Linked DNA regions of Homo sapiens: regions 1 and 2 are each linked to region 3. The links are contacts of gene promoters, found by promoter capture Hi-C in blood cells and fetal thymus (Javierre and others, 2016). All regions are on one chromosome and are shown on one strand. The core of a region is centred on a gene start or on the middle of the fragment in contact, and the rest is flanking DNA. Distances in the headings are between cores, read along the strand shown. Region 1 overlaps LPIN2 (lipin 2). Region 2 has its middle 15 kb from the start of SMCHD1. Region 3 holds the start of DLGAP1-AS1 (DLGAP1 antisense RNA 1).

The links. Contacts are between HindIII fragments. The CHiCAGO score rates a contact against its expected background, and 5 or more counts as called.
Region 1: a fragment that was not itself captured here is called in contact with the fragment with the promoter of DLGAP1-AS1 in region 3 in 1 of 17 cell types (total B cells); the score reaches 5.8 in total B cells.
Region 2: a contact is called between a fragment that was not itself captured here and the fragment with the promoter of DLGAP1-AS1 in region 3, in 1 of 17 cell types (total B cells). The highest score is 5.8, in total B cells.

Annotation. Positions count from the first base shown.
Region 1 is chr18:2,986,220-2,990,455 of GRCh38, reverse strand. All of the region lies in intron 1 of LPIN2 (lipin 2), which reads left to right. Among named protein-coding and RNA genes, the nearest start is that of LPIN2-AS2, 21 kb to the right of the region's middle. The HindIII fragment of the contact is 876 bases long and covers 1,104-1,979 here.
Region 2 is chr18:2,638,373-2,642,471 of GRCh38, reverse strand. No RefSeq gene overlaps it. Among named protein-coding and RNA genes, the nearest start is that of SMCHD1, 15 kb to the left of the region's middle. RefSeq lists an enhancer at 531-740. The HindIII fragment of the contact is 5,288 bases long and covers 89-4,099 here.
Region 3 is chr18:3,591,172-3,595,363 of GRCh38, reverse strand. DLGAP1-AS1 (DLGAP1 antisense RNA 1) reads right to left here and starts at 1,250. Exons shown (of 3, transcript NR_024101.1): 1 at 1,124-1,250; 2 at 880-944. The region is part of intron 7 of DLGAP1 (DLG associated protein 1); the gene reads left to right. RefSeq lists enhancers at 1-78, 1,491-1,610 and a silencer at 199-493. The HindIII fragment of the contact is 5,788 bases long and covers 353-4,192 here.

The DNA of each region.
Region 1 (4,236 bases), core at 292-2,791, 610 kb after region 3:
TTGAATCATTTGTCTTTTAGTTGTTGTAGGAATTTTTAAATATATTCTAGAGTTAAACTCCCCAATTTGCAAATATTTTCTTACATTCTGTATGATTCTTTTTCTTGATCATGTCCTTTGATACAAAAAAAAGTACTTTTAGTGAAATCCAATTTATCTAGTTTTTGTTACTCATGCTTTTGGTGTTATATCTGAGAATCATTTGCCAAATCCAAGATCATGAAGATTTACCCTATGTTTTCTTCTAAGAGTTTTATGGTTTTAGGTCATTAATCCATTTTGAGTTAATTTTTTAATATGGTGTAAAGTAGGGTTCCAACTTCATTCTTTTGCATATAGAAACTTAGTTGTGTCAGCACCATCCGTTGAGACTATTCCTTCCGCCATGCAGTGGATTTGGTACTCTTGTCAAATATCAATTGGCCATAAATGTTTGGGTTTATTTCTGGACTCTCAAGTCTATTCCATTGGTCTGTATGTCTGTTTTATGCCAGTACTACAATGTTTTGATTACTGTAATTTTTTTTTTTTTTTTTGAGACAGAGTCTCACTCTGTCACCCAGGCTGGAGTGCAGTGGTGCAATCTCAGCTCACTGCAGCTTCCACCTCCTGGGTTCAAGTGATTCTCCTGCCTCAGCCTCCCGAGTGGCTGGGACCACAGGAGCCTGCCACACACCTGCCTAATTTCTGTATTTTTTGTAGAGGCGGGGTTTCACTGTGTTGGCCAAGCTGGTCTCGAACTCCTGACCTCAAGTGTTCTGCCCGCATTGGCCTCCCAAAGTGATGGGATTACAGGCGTCAGCTACTGCACCCAGCCTGATTACTGTAACTTTGAAAGTTTTGAAATCAAGAAATGGAAGTCTTCCAACTTAGCTCTTTTTCAGTATTATTTTGGCTAGTCAGGGCCCCTTGTAACTCCATATGAATTTGAGGCTTTTGGAATTTTGATAGGGATTGCCTTGAATTTGAAGATCGCTTTAGGTAATATTGGCATCTTAACAATATTGAGTCTTCCTATTCACGAACACGGATGTCTTTCTATTTACTGAGGTTATCTTTAATTTTTTTTTTCAGTGATTTTTGCAATTTTATTTGTACAAGCTTTCACCTCCTTGGTTAAATTTATTCCTAGGCATTTTTTTTCTTTTAGATGCATTGCATAATGTTTGAGATTTTAGAAATACTTAGCATAGTAAATCTGAATTTCAGCTTAAATAATGAGTCTAAGAAGGTACTGTGGAAGACATCTTGAGCTCTAGCTGGTTTGTCCTTGGATATTTAACATAACCTCTCTCTAAACCTCCATTTCTTCATCTGTAAAATATAGGGATAAAGCAAATCTGTCTTTCATGAGAATTGTGTAGATCAGAGATAATATATGCAAAGGATTAATTCCAGGGTATGGCTTAGAGTAAATACTAAATAAATAGTGCTTGGCTGCCAGGATTGTGTTTTCTTCTATGATTTCAATATAAATACCTATGTTGTACTTGAAGTATACTTTTTCAAATTGAATACAATTAATTTGTTGCAAAGGCTGAAGATTTTTACACAAACTAAATGCCCTGTTCCTGAGAGAGCTTTTTTATATTAAAGTATGTTGAGTCTGGAAGAAAAATAAAATGAAATGTCACACTTGTTCTGTTTCAATGGTGCTTTATCCTTAGAAGAGGGAGCATTTCTTCTCATGTTGCAACTTTCAGATGCCTCTTTGCTTTTTGAATCCTATCTGTGTCTTGACATTACAAGGTTAAATCTTAGACATTACCAGCATTTAACTTGAAAGAGTAGCAAAGCTGACTAACTTTTCCCCTTTTCTTTTACTACTTAGTGCATTGAGGCTTTACCCTCACTGGAGATTGCAATTACCGTCACCATCTGGAATTGGATTCATCTGTATGTGTAGAATATAACTTACATATAAAGCTGAGTATCAGTGTTTCAGGTTTTCTCTTTTTCTTACACATCTCAGTCAAGCTTTAGATTGAAGTAGGCAGATTCACTGAGTGTAATAATTTAAGAATTCAGTTACTTTCATTTTAATTTAAATTTCACCAATTAAATAAAATTCTTCATAACACTTAAGTATAGCATTAGAATTTCTAAACATTGTGAAACTAAATTCTTTATTCTCATAGCAAAGTATATTAGTCATTTTTGCCGTTTCTCCTGAAGAGCATAAATGAGCCTGCATTCAAGAATATGGAATGTTGTACATTCTGATGGGGAAATAGAGTGGCAGAATATAGTCAGGTTGAGGAGCATGGAAGTTTGAAAAAGAACCAGAAATTTGGAGAGAGAGCTGACCACAGAAACAAAGGAGGGTTGCCAGATTCTGTTGGGGACCCATTTAAGGCTACAGATAAGTAATTTATACTGTTACCCATCTGGCCTGCTGGCAGCACTCATGATGATTCTTTTTTTTTTTTTTTTTTTTTTTTTTGAGACAGTCTCTCACTCTGTCGCCCAGGCTGGAGAACAGTGGTATGATCTTGGCTCACTGCAACCTCCGCCTCAGCCTCCTGAGTAGCTGGGATTACAGGCGTGAGCCACCACACTCAGCTAATTCTTGTATTTTTAGTAGAGATGAGGTTTCACTGTGTTGGCCAGGCTGGTCTTGAACTCCTGACCTCAAGTGATCCACCCTCCTGGATTCTAAGTACACTTAAAATTACAGCAGCCGTTCGTTTCTATAGATGGAAGAAGGTGGCAGGAAGAAGAGTAATTACTAAGAGTAATTTACTAAGTAAAGCTGATTACAAATATCTTTTAAATAAAAAATTTTTAAGTAATTGAAAGAGATCACAGCAACAGAATAATTTAAACAACCATCACCAGTTTTTCAGGTGGTCGAGAAAATCTTGAATTAGAACTGTTGTGAGGAACCAGCTATGGAAGAGAAAATTGGAGTCAAAGATGGACCTGAAATGTCCACGTGGAAAAAAATAAGTCAAGGAATGTGAGGATGAGGGGTTCCTACATGATGCCGATACATTTTGTGATAATTTTCACTTATATTTTCTTTGGATTGTCTTAATGATATAATCAACTCTTGCTCACCTTATTTGTTGTTTGTTGCTGTTTTTGGGGGACAAGCTTTAAGCTATCTCACTTTTTGATCTGGAGTATAGGAACCCAGCACTGGCTTCTTCCAGCACCTTCACTTGGCCTCAGTGTTGTGATGCACTGAGCCACCCCTGTTATTGTGAGTCTATAACAAGTAATTTGTTTCTGAAAAGATTAAAGCACTACACTTTGAAAATTATTTAGTGTTTTAAAATTTGATGATAGTAAGACTTGCATTTCAACAGGATTTTTTGAGTTTGAATGAAATGGGGGTGATATAACCCCAGAACAGAAAATCGTATACCTAAGGGTGTCATCACTGTGCAAACTGCTATTCAGAGGTGAAATGGGAGAAGAAAAAGACATTTAAACAGAAACAATTAGGCAATTAACAGGCCCCCTCTTCACCCCCGACCTCCACCCCTGTCAAGCAACTGAGGCCTCAGGAGTCCTGCCTGAGCAGAACAGAGGGTTTTCCATTTCTTTTGGCTTTATTTTGTTGAAAATGTTGTCCAAAAGTTGTGACACAAGTCAGGCCATAATTACTCTGATCCTAAATTAGGCTGTTCAGCTTTACTCTCTTAATGTTCAGATGCACTTGACTGCTACAGCCAGGCAACTCTCAGTATTGTCTCTCTTGTCTCCAAATAGTGGGTAAAAGCTTGACCTCAAACATTTGTGTTGGAAGGGTTAGACCGCAGAGGTTGTTTGGTCCTAAGCTCCTTAAACTGCGATGTGTACACTGAGCATCCTCTAATTCTTACAGTAAATGTGTTGCATTAACCTTTGAACTTGGAAGAAGAAAGCTTTGGCCAGTTAGTCTTTCTTTTTTTTTTTTTTTTACATTAAAAAAATAGACTTATCACAATAGACTACAAAATGTGTGAATTTTAAAGATAAATGACAAGTCTTCAAAGAAGTTTATCTTTGGGAGAGTCACTTTAAGCTGGGCGTCTGACCTCAGGAGACCCTCCCTTGTTTTTTCTCTTCTGTTCCTGGAAAGATCTGTTTGCATTTGGTTATTCACTCACAGTTCAGTGAAATTGCCAGCCACTAGCTATCTTGTTTAGAATTTTGAGATTATATGAGGATATTATGAAACACTGGAACTTGAGTAAACTATATAACCATTACCCAATGAGCAGTTAAACTACAAATGTTTGAAAAACC
Region 2 (4,099 bases), core at 1,483-3,982, 950 kb after region 3:
CCACTGCACTCCAGCCTGGCGACAGAGTGAGACTCCGTCTCAAAAAAAAAAAAAAAAAGGAAATCTAAGTTTATTTGGCTCCAAAGCTTGGACACTACAAATAACCTCATCCGGGGTTCATAAAATATGAACTCAGCCATTTTTACATTAATTCAGCTTTCTCTATGTCTTATATATGTATTCACAACAAATTCTCAACTTTCCTTGAAATCCTCTGAAACTATGTATAGGACTTAATGCTGAAATATTAAGATATATCATTGTTTTGAAAAAATTATCATAGTCTGATGAGGGCCATAAATCAAGTTCAAAATAAATTCTAATGTTTGTTAGTATTGTTTGAAATTTGGGCAAAATTAGTTAAGTTTTTTCTGAATTTCAGTTTTAATAGACCTTGTTTTGGTCAATTAGAAGTTGGAGGCAAAGTGCTTTATCAGTAAATATACTGAGCTCCTTCTCAGATGGTATCTATTACCAGAAACATTAAATACTGTGGTTGATTGAAACACCTATTTTCATGCTATTTTAAATAATTAAACAGCTATAGTTCCCCAAGGATGAGGGATTTCAATATTTGAAACATGCTGCTGGAAAATAACGTGATGCTTGCCAGCAAGAGATGTGACTATGAAGAAATGAAACTGATTATCAGAAAAGAAACCGAAACTGTGGTTTGTGAGCCTAGAGAAGCACTCAGAGGAGGGGTGTGTTATAATATTTTTATTTGCAGAGCATTAAAGAGGCAACATGGTGTTAGGGACAAGTAAATTGATCTGGGAGTGAGGACTTGTGCTCCCAGGTGCCAAACCTAATCCCTTTCTAGCTAGCTATGCAACAAAGGGCAATTCAATGAGCACTGAACACAAGATTAAAAAGACAGATTAAAAATAAAAAAAAAAACAGGCAAAAAACAGAAATAACTGTGACACTTTATTAGAAGTATTCATTCATTGGCCGGGCACAGTGGCTCACACCTGTAATCCCAGCACTTTGGGAGGCTGAGGTGGGTGGACCACGAGGTCAGAAGTTCAAGACCAGCCTGGCCAACGTGGTGAAACCCCATCTTTACTAAAAATACAAAAATTAGCCAGGTGTGGTGGCAGGTGCCTGTAATCCCAGCTACTCAGGAGGCTGAGGCAGAGAATTGCTTGAACCCGGGAGACAGAGGTTGCAGTGAGCCGAGATCGTGCCACTGCACTCCAGCCTGGGTAACAGAACAAGACTCTGTATTAAAAAAAAAAAAAAGTGAGCAGAGGTAGGAATCACAGATGACTCCCAAGTTTAGGGTTTAGGTCACTGGGTAGATGATGATGCTTTCATTGAGCTGGGGGAGAGAAGTGCTATTACTGCAATAGAAGGGATTCCCAAGAGCACAGTACAAAGGCTTGGAAGAGAGTGCCACAGAGATCCTCAGGAGACTTCCGCATTTAGAAGAGGAAAGAGATTCTCATAATGAAAATAATAAGTATATAAGGTAATGCATATGGTAATTAGCTTGATTTACCCACTCCAGTAGGGTATGTATATATATTTTGAAACATCCTGTTGTACACAGTAAATATATACAATTTTTATTTGTCAGTTTAAAAATATGTATTATTTTAAAAAGCCTAATTCTACTCTGAAAATTAAAAACAGAAGAAAAAGAGACCAGGAAAGAGAAACTTAACTTGCTGTCAGTATAAGGGTGTCAGACTTCTTTCTGATGAAGCCAGAAAGAGTGGCTCAGCAAATTGAAAACACAAGTATTCAAATGGAAAGAAAGACAAAATTATCAGGGCACTAAATTTATATCAGCCTGTTGAAGGTGAGGAAAAAAGCCACTTACTCATACAGGTATCATATATGCAAAAATCATTCATGTTGGCCAGGCATGGTGGCTCACAACTGTAAACCCAGCACTTTGGAAGGCTAAAATGGGTGGATCACTTGAGCCTAGGAGTTCAAGACCAGCCTGGGCAACATGGCAAAACCCCTTCTCTATAACCCAGTACAAACGTTAGCCAGGTATGGTGGCACACACCTGTAGTCTCAGCTACTGAGATGACAGGATCGCTTGAGCCCAGGAGGTCGAGGCTGCAGTGAGCCATGATTGTGCCACCGCACTCCAGCCTAAGTGACAGAGTGAGACCCTGTCTCCAAAAAATTAAAAAAAAAAAAAGAAAAAGATCATTCATATCAGCATAGCAAAAGTCAGGGACAGCATTATTTAGAGAATCCAGGCTCACTGCAAATTTTTTAGAGTTTATTATTTTGGAGACCAGAACCAGTCAGGATGACCCTATTCTTTTAAGTTTTTCTTGAGAATGTGAAGTGGTTTGATTTTGTTCCTATCTATAGTATGTGATGTGCTTAATCATACTGGAAGCAGAACAAAGCGTGAGTTTTGCTTCTATAGGAGATTAGCAATGGCATAAGGCATATGGAGGGAAGGAAAAGAGAGAGGGAAGGAGGGACTGACCATACAGAGACATAGAGTAGGGTGTGCATGGCACGCATGTGTGACAAAGAGCAAGTATAAATTATTATTGGGGCTCCTGTGTGTCTGTGTCATCACTCAGGTGTCCAGGCCTCATTAGGCCACACAGCAGACTGATCAGCAATTCCCAACCTTTCATTTGGGTTCCACATGAAATACTGATGAGGAGTCTTTGTAGAACTTGGAGAAGGTAGAACTGAAACTCAAGGGAGATCCTACTAAAATGGTTACAGGAGGTATTGTCTAGTTCAAAGAAGGTCACTTTCGTAAGGATTTAACGGTAGTCCAAGATGAAAACCTCAGGCTTCATCTGTTGTCAAATAATACATAAGGTATTTCTAGGCTTCTCCAGAGAGAAAGAGTCAAAGTCTGCAGGAAATCGCTAGCTCCTGCAATATCAATCAAATTAAAACTATACAATTGGCAATAGATGGGGAATTTACACATGTTACACATGGGCTCTGTAGAATAGCTAGACTTTGAAGCCCCGATCTTCCCTTTGGGGTCCCTTTCTATTGCTATCACTGCCAGCTCCTTTTTGGTAAATCCTATTACTTTTTTTTTTGTGGTTGGGAGAGGATCTCACTCTGTCGCCCAGGCTGGAGTATAGCGGTGCAATCACAGCTCACTGCAGCCTCCACCTCCCTGAGCTCAGGAGATTCTCTCACCTCAGCCTCCCTAGTAGCCGGAACTACAGGTGCCCACCACTATGCCTGGCTAATTTTTGTATTTTTTGTAGAGACAGGATTTTGCCATGTTGCCCAGGCTAATCTCGAACTCCTGACCTCAGGTCAGGAGGCCGATGCATTTGCCTCGGCTTCCCAAAGTGCTGGGATTACAGGACTGAGCCACCACGCCCGGCCACTATCACCTTTTATGAACATACGTCCCCACCTTAATTCCTGGCAGCATAGTAGAGACTTTGCTGGTGTTCAGACTATAGTATGTGTAAGAATAACCTGTACTGTGTGTTTAAAATACAAATTCCTAGGTTCCACACCCAGATATTAATATTTTGAATCAGTCAAATATGAGACTGAGAATGTATATTTTTAACAACTTTCATGTGGTTCTGACAGAGATAGTTCAAACACCACATTTTGAGAAACACTGAACCAAATGGGACAAAAAAGGTGATGGATATAGAAAAGAATATATTGAAGCCAATCTGAAAAGGCTACATACTGAATGATGTCAAGTATATGACATTTCTGGAAAAGGCAAAACTATGGAGACAGGAAAATGATCAGTGGTTGCCCAAGGGCTGCGAAGAGGAGGGATGGGCAGGCAAAACACAGAGGATTTTTAGGGCAGTTAAATTATTCTGTCTGATACCATAGTGGTGAATACATGTCACTTATACATTTGTCCAAACCCAAAGAATGTGCAACATGAAGAGTGAACCCTTATGTAAACTACGGACATTCCGTGGTTATGATGTATCTGCATAGATTCCCTCATTGTAACACATGCTGCTCTCTGGTGGGCAATGTTGAAAACCAGGGAGCTGGCATGTGTGGGGGCAGGAGGTACCTTTCTTTCCATTTTGCTGTGAACCTAAAACTGTTCTAAAAACATAGTCTCTCGCTCTCTGTTTTTTTTTTTTTAGACGGAGTCTCG
Region 3 (4,192 bases), core at 1-2,500:
AGAAGTTTTAGACCTCAGCCTCTGGCCCTGGGCCTTCTGAAATGACCTTCCTCCAAACACCATTTAATTTCCGCTAACTTAGTTAATGAATGGAACTTTCTGAAGACAGCAGTTACTTTGATCTGAACCCCTTTCCTAGTTTCCAGTTAACATAGCCAGAGGGAGACAGAAGGGGTGCCCGCCTCTCAATGGGTGCCCTCTCCTCCTGCGTGGCTGGAGCAGCTCCCAGCTGTAGCTATTCCTCTAACGCAGAGAGAGCTGCAGAAAGCAGTTCCCAAAAGGAAGAAGGCAAGTTACAAATACCGCCGTTGGCATTTTCGTGGGTGTTTCCCGCCACATAGAGATAAAAGCTTTGAGGTGGGGCTTTGAGGCACACTCTCTGGGTAGCTGGGCCTGCAGTCTGGAAATCCTAAGTAATCCTTGCAAATAGGCTAACTGGAAGCCAGCAATACAAATGAGCAGTGCTTCTGGCCTGAGAGAAAGGTGTCTGCATTCAAAGTACAACTTCAGATAAAAATGGAAAATGCCAGTCCCACCCTGCAGGAATCCTGTTTCTGGGCTGTTTATCCTCACTGCCATCCACCCTACCCTTGGCTGTGACTAGGATGTGAAGAAAGAGATTGGGTGGAAAAGGCTACCGCAGCTCTTGCTCCGTTTAACTCACCACCTTAAAAAACATGGCCTTGGCTGCTGCTTTAAAACAACAACAACGAAAATCCCCAGCCCCAACCCAGAGGTTTAACCCTGCAGCTAAGGTGAAGTTTTTGTTAAGGTGATAAGGTAAAAAAGGACGCCATTCTGAGCCTTGACTTCCACTCTTCATACTTTTCGGAAGACAAGTCCAGCAAAGACCTCCACCCCTTCCAAAGAGCGACTTACCTCGTAGCTGATCCACAGATTGCAACGTACAGATGTGATGTTCCAGGCTTGGCCACAAGGGGACACTAGAGAGTAGGACTGCCCGCGTCAATGTTTTGTTTTTTACAGACTTTTGGTTGGGAGGGAGGGAGGGAGGGAGGGGGGTGTGGGAGTGGTGGGGGAGATGCTGGCTTTAAAAAAAAGTCCATTTGTTCCCTGAGATTGTGCCACTTGCCCTTTTATAAGTCAAAGGTTGCCACGTTACCTGTTGCCAGGTTCCTGAGAGTGCTTGGGGAAAATGTGGGCGAGAGAGGCACAGCACAGTCCTCCGGCTTGGTAGGTTTCAAGCTCTTTTGACTGGGCTGGCGCTGACATTTGCAGGGGCAGCTGCTGTGGATTGCCTGCGCATTGTTTGGCTGTAGTTCTAACAGAGGAGTGGCTGCGTCTGACATCATTTCCAGGCATCAAGTGCCTGGGGCTTTTTTTTTTTTTTTTCTTTAATGACGAACTCTCTGACCCCTCCCTGCCTGGATTTTTGTACAGTACATGCACTGTGCAAAACAGCCTCCACTCAGGAAGCCCAAGTTTTGTAGCAGCTTGTTGAAACAACTTGGGTGCCTTTTAAAAAAAATAAAGTTGTGACTCTGAAACAAACCTTTCCATTCTTCCTCCTTGCTGAGAACAATGTTGCGTTTGATTAGCAGCGCAGCCAGTGCTTTCTGAAAGATCTGCTCTCCCCAGAAGAGGCGGCTGCTATCAGTTGAATAGATCTCTAGGCCAGACATGCCGAGGCTTGGGGCATTTGTCTGGCGTTAGGAAGTGTCTGGAATACTAGCAACTACCAACTGGCGTGTCTTATGACTACAGGAATTATTACACTACCCTCCATTTCATTCACATCCCCTCTCCTCCCCTTACACACACACACAAGCATATTTTTTTCTACTTTAGAAAAAGTTGAGCGAGTCATCTTGTGGTTTCCGTGGAGGATGTAACTGGGAGAGAAGACTGTGGGATACCTTGTATCTCCCAGAGGGGGGCCGGGAATCATGGTGTATGACCCACCCCAACAGCCTCTGATCTCTGCCTTCTCACCACTGACCGCCACGCTTTGGGTGGCCTTAAATGTGAAGCTGTAAATATTTTGAAATAAGGTAGTGATTTTTCCATGTGCATTTTGTTTTGTGGCATTTCTCTCCTTCTGCAATATTTTAAAAGTTGCAACTGTGCACCCCTTGTTGACCACTCCAAATTCATTCATTCACTGAAACTTAAGAGTTCCTGCAGAGTGAGGATGGCTGTGCACGAAGGAGTCCCTCGTGGAAACCACGGTGCTTTAGTGGACAAGGTGTTTACTAGAGAGTGTTTACTGGCGGGGGGCGGGGGAGATAAACAAAGGTGGTTTGAGTTAATGGTCAGATGGGAGTTGGAGCCCTGAGTACTCTAACTCTGTCACTGAATCTCTAGATGAGTTAGGGATGTCCGTTGCCTGCTCTGAGCCTTAATATTTTCATCAGTTAAATGGGGATAGTGGGATCTTTCACATATGTGAGATCATGTCTATTTTCTTCTTTTTCTTTTCTTTTCTTTCTTTTTTTTCTTTTTCTTTTTCTTTTTCTTTTTCTTTCTTTCTTTTTCTTTTTTTTTTTTTTTTTTTTTTTTGAGGCAGGGTCTTGCTCTGTCACCTAGGCTGGAGTGCAGTGGCACAGTCATGGCTCATTGCGGCCTCCACCTCCCAAGCTCAAGTGATCCTCCCACCTCAGCCTACCGAGTAGCTGAGACTTCAGGCGTGCACCACCATGACCAGCTAGTTGTTGTTGTTTGGGTTTTTTTGAGACGAGGTCTCACTCTGTTGCCCAGGCTGGTCTCCAACACCTGGGCTAAAGCGATCCTTATGCTTCAGCCTCCCAAAGTGCTGGGATTACAGGTGTGAGCCACCACACCCAGCCCCCATGTCTATTAAGTTCTTAGCACAGTGTCCAGTACACAGAGTAAGGATTTGCTCTCTGGTGATTAGGAAGATCTAATGGCATGTCACGGGTCTGGACTGAATCTCATCTCATCATCTTTGTTGTTGCCAGGGTTTGCGCATTTTTGCCGGTGGAGGACTCCAGCCAGACCGCTGATTTGTCTGGCATTTGTTGGAAAGTCCGGCCAGCATAACACATCACCGCAAGGAGCAGGAGCCCTATGATGCACTGTTAAGTGCACAACTATGGGGTCTGCTTGGCTGGAAGCAGCAGCAGCAAACTTGTCTATTAGTTATTTTGTCCTCATCAGTGCCAGCTGCTTTCCCAAGATGGCAGAACATTCATCATTGCTACCAGACAGCCTCGTTGGAGCTCTTTCTCTGGCCTCCTTTTTTGGCTTCTTTCTTCAGCTCTTCAGCATCATTCTCTGTGGGACCCTCCCTAGTTTGCAAATTCTTGTCTAAATTTCACTCATTATCATAACCATCCAATTTGAAAGAAACCTTGTCATCTAGTTGAGCCCCCTATCAGATGTTGGTACAATTGCTATAGCCTCCCAGCCAAAAGATGTGCTGGTCTGTGCTTGAACAGGTCCAGGGGCTGAGAACTCCCTCTGTTATGAGGTCCTCATATTCCTTCTATGGACGGACAATCAATGCCTGGAGAATTATTCTTTATGCCTCTCTGAGCCCTTGCCTTTGTTGTTCCTTTGGGGACTTATACAAAACAGGCCCATGCTATCCTCTAAGCAAGAGCCCTCCAAATAATTGAAAACCCCCCTTTCTTCTTTTCCAAATGAAACACCCCGTCTTTTTATTTTTATTTTTTGTTTTTTATTTTTGACGTAGTCTTGCTCTGTCGCCAGGCTGGAGTGGTGTGATCTTGGCTCACTGCAACCTCAATCTTTTGGGCTTCAGCAATCCTCCCGCCCCAGCCTTCCAAGTAGCTGGGACTACAGGTGCCACCTACTTGGAAGGCTGGGGCAGGATTCTACCACTCCTGGATAATTTTGTGGAGATGGGTTTCACCATGTTGCTCTAGCTGGTCTCAGACTCCTGAGCTCAAAGAGATCCTCCCACCTGGACCTCTCAAAGTGCTGGGATTACAGGAATGAGCCACCGCAACAGGCCTAGGTCCATACTTCTAATCCTACATGCCTTTCCTGAAATAGACACCTTACCTGACATTACAACCATAAGTCCAATCGTTCCCATTCTGTATTTCTACAATAGAAATACATTTATGTCCCCAGTTTAGGTCCTTCCAAGTTTCTTTTTTTTCTTTTGGCCTCTTCACATCATTTTGTTTTCTAAAATAGCCTGTGGCTTCAAGTTACCTCTTGAATATATTCTTAATCTCACTTG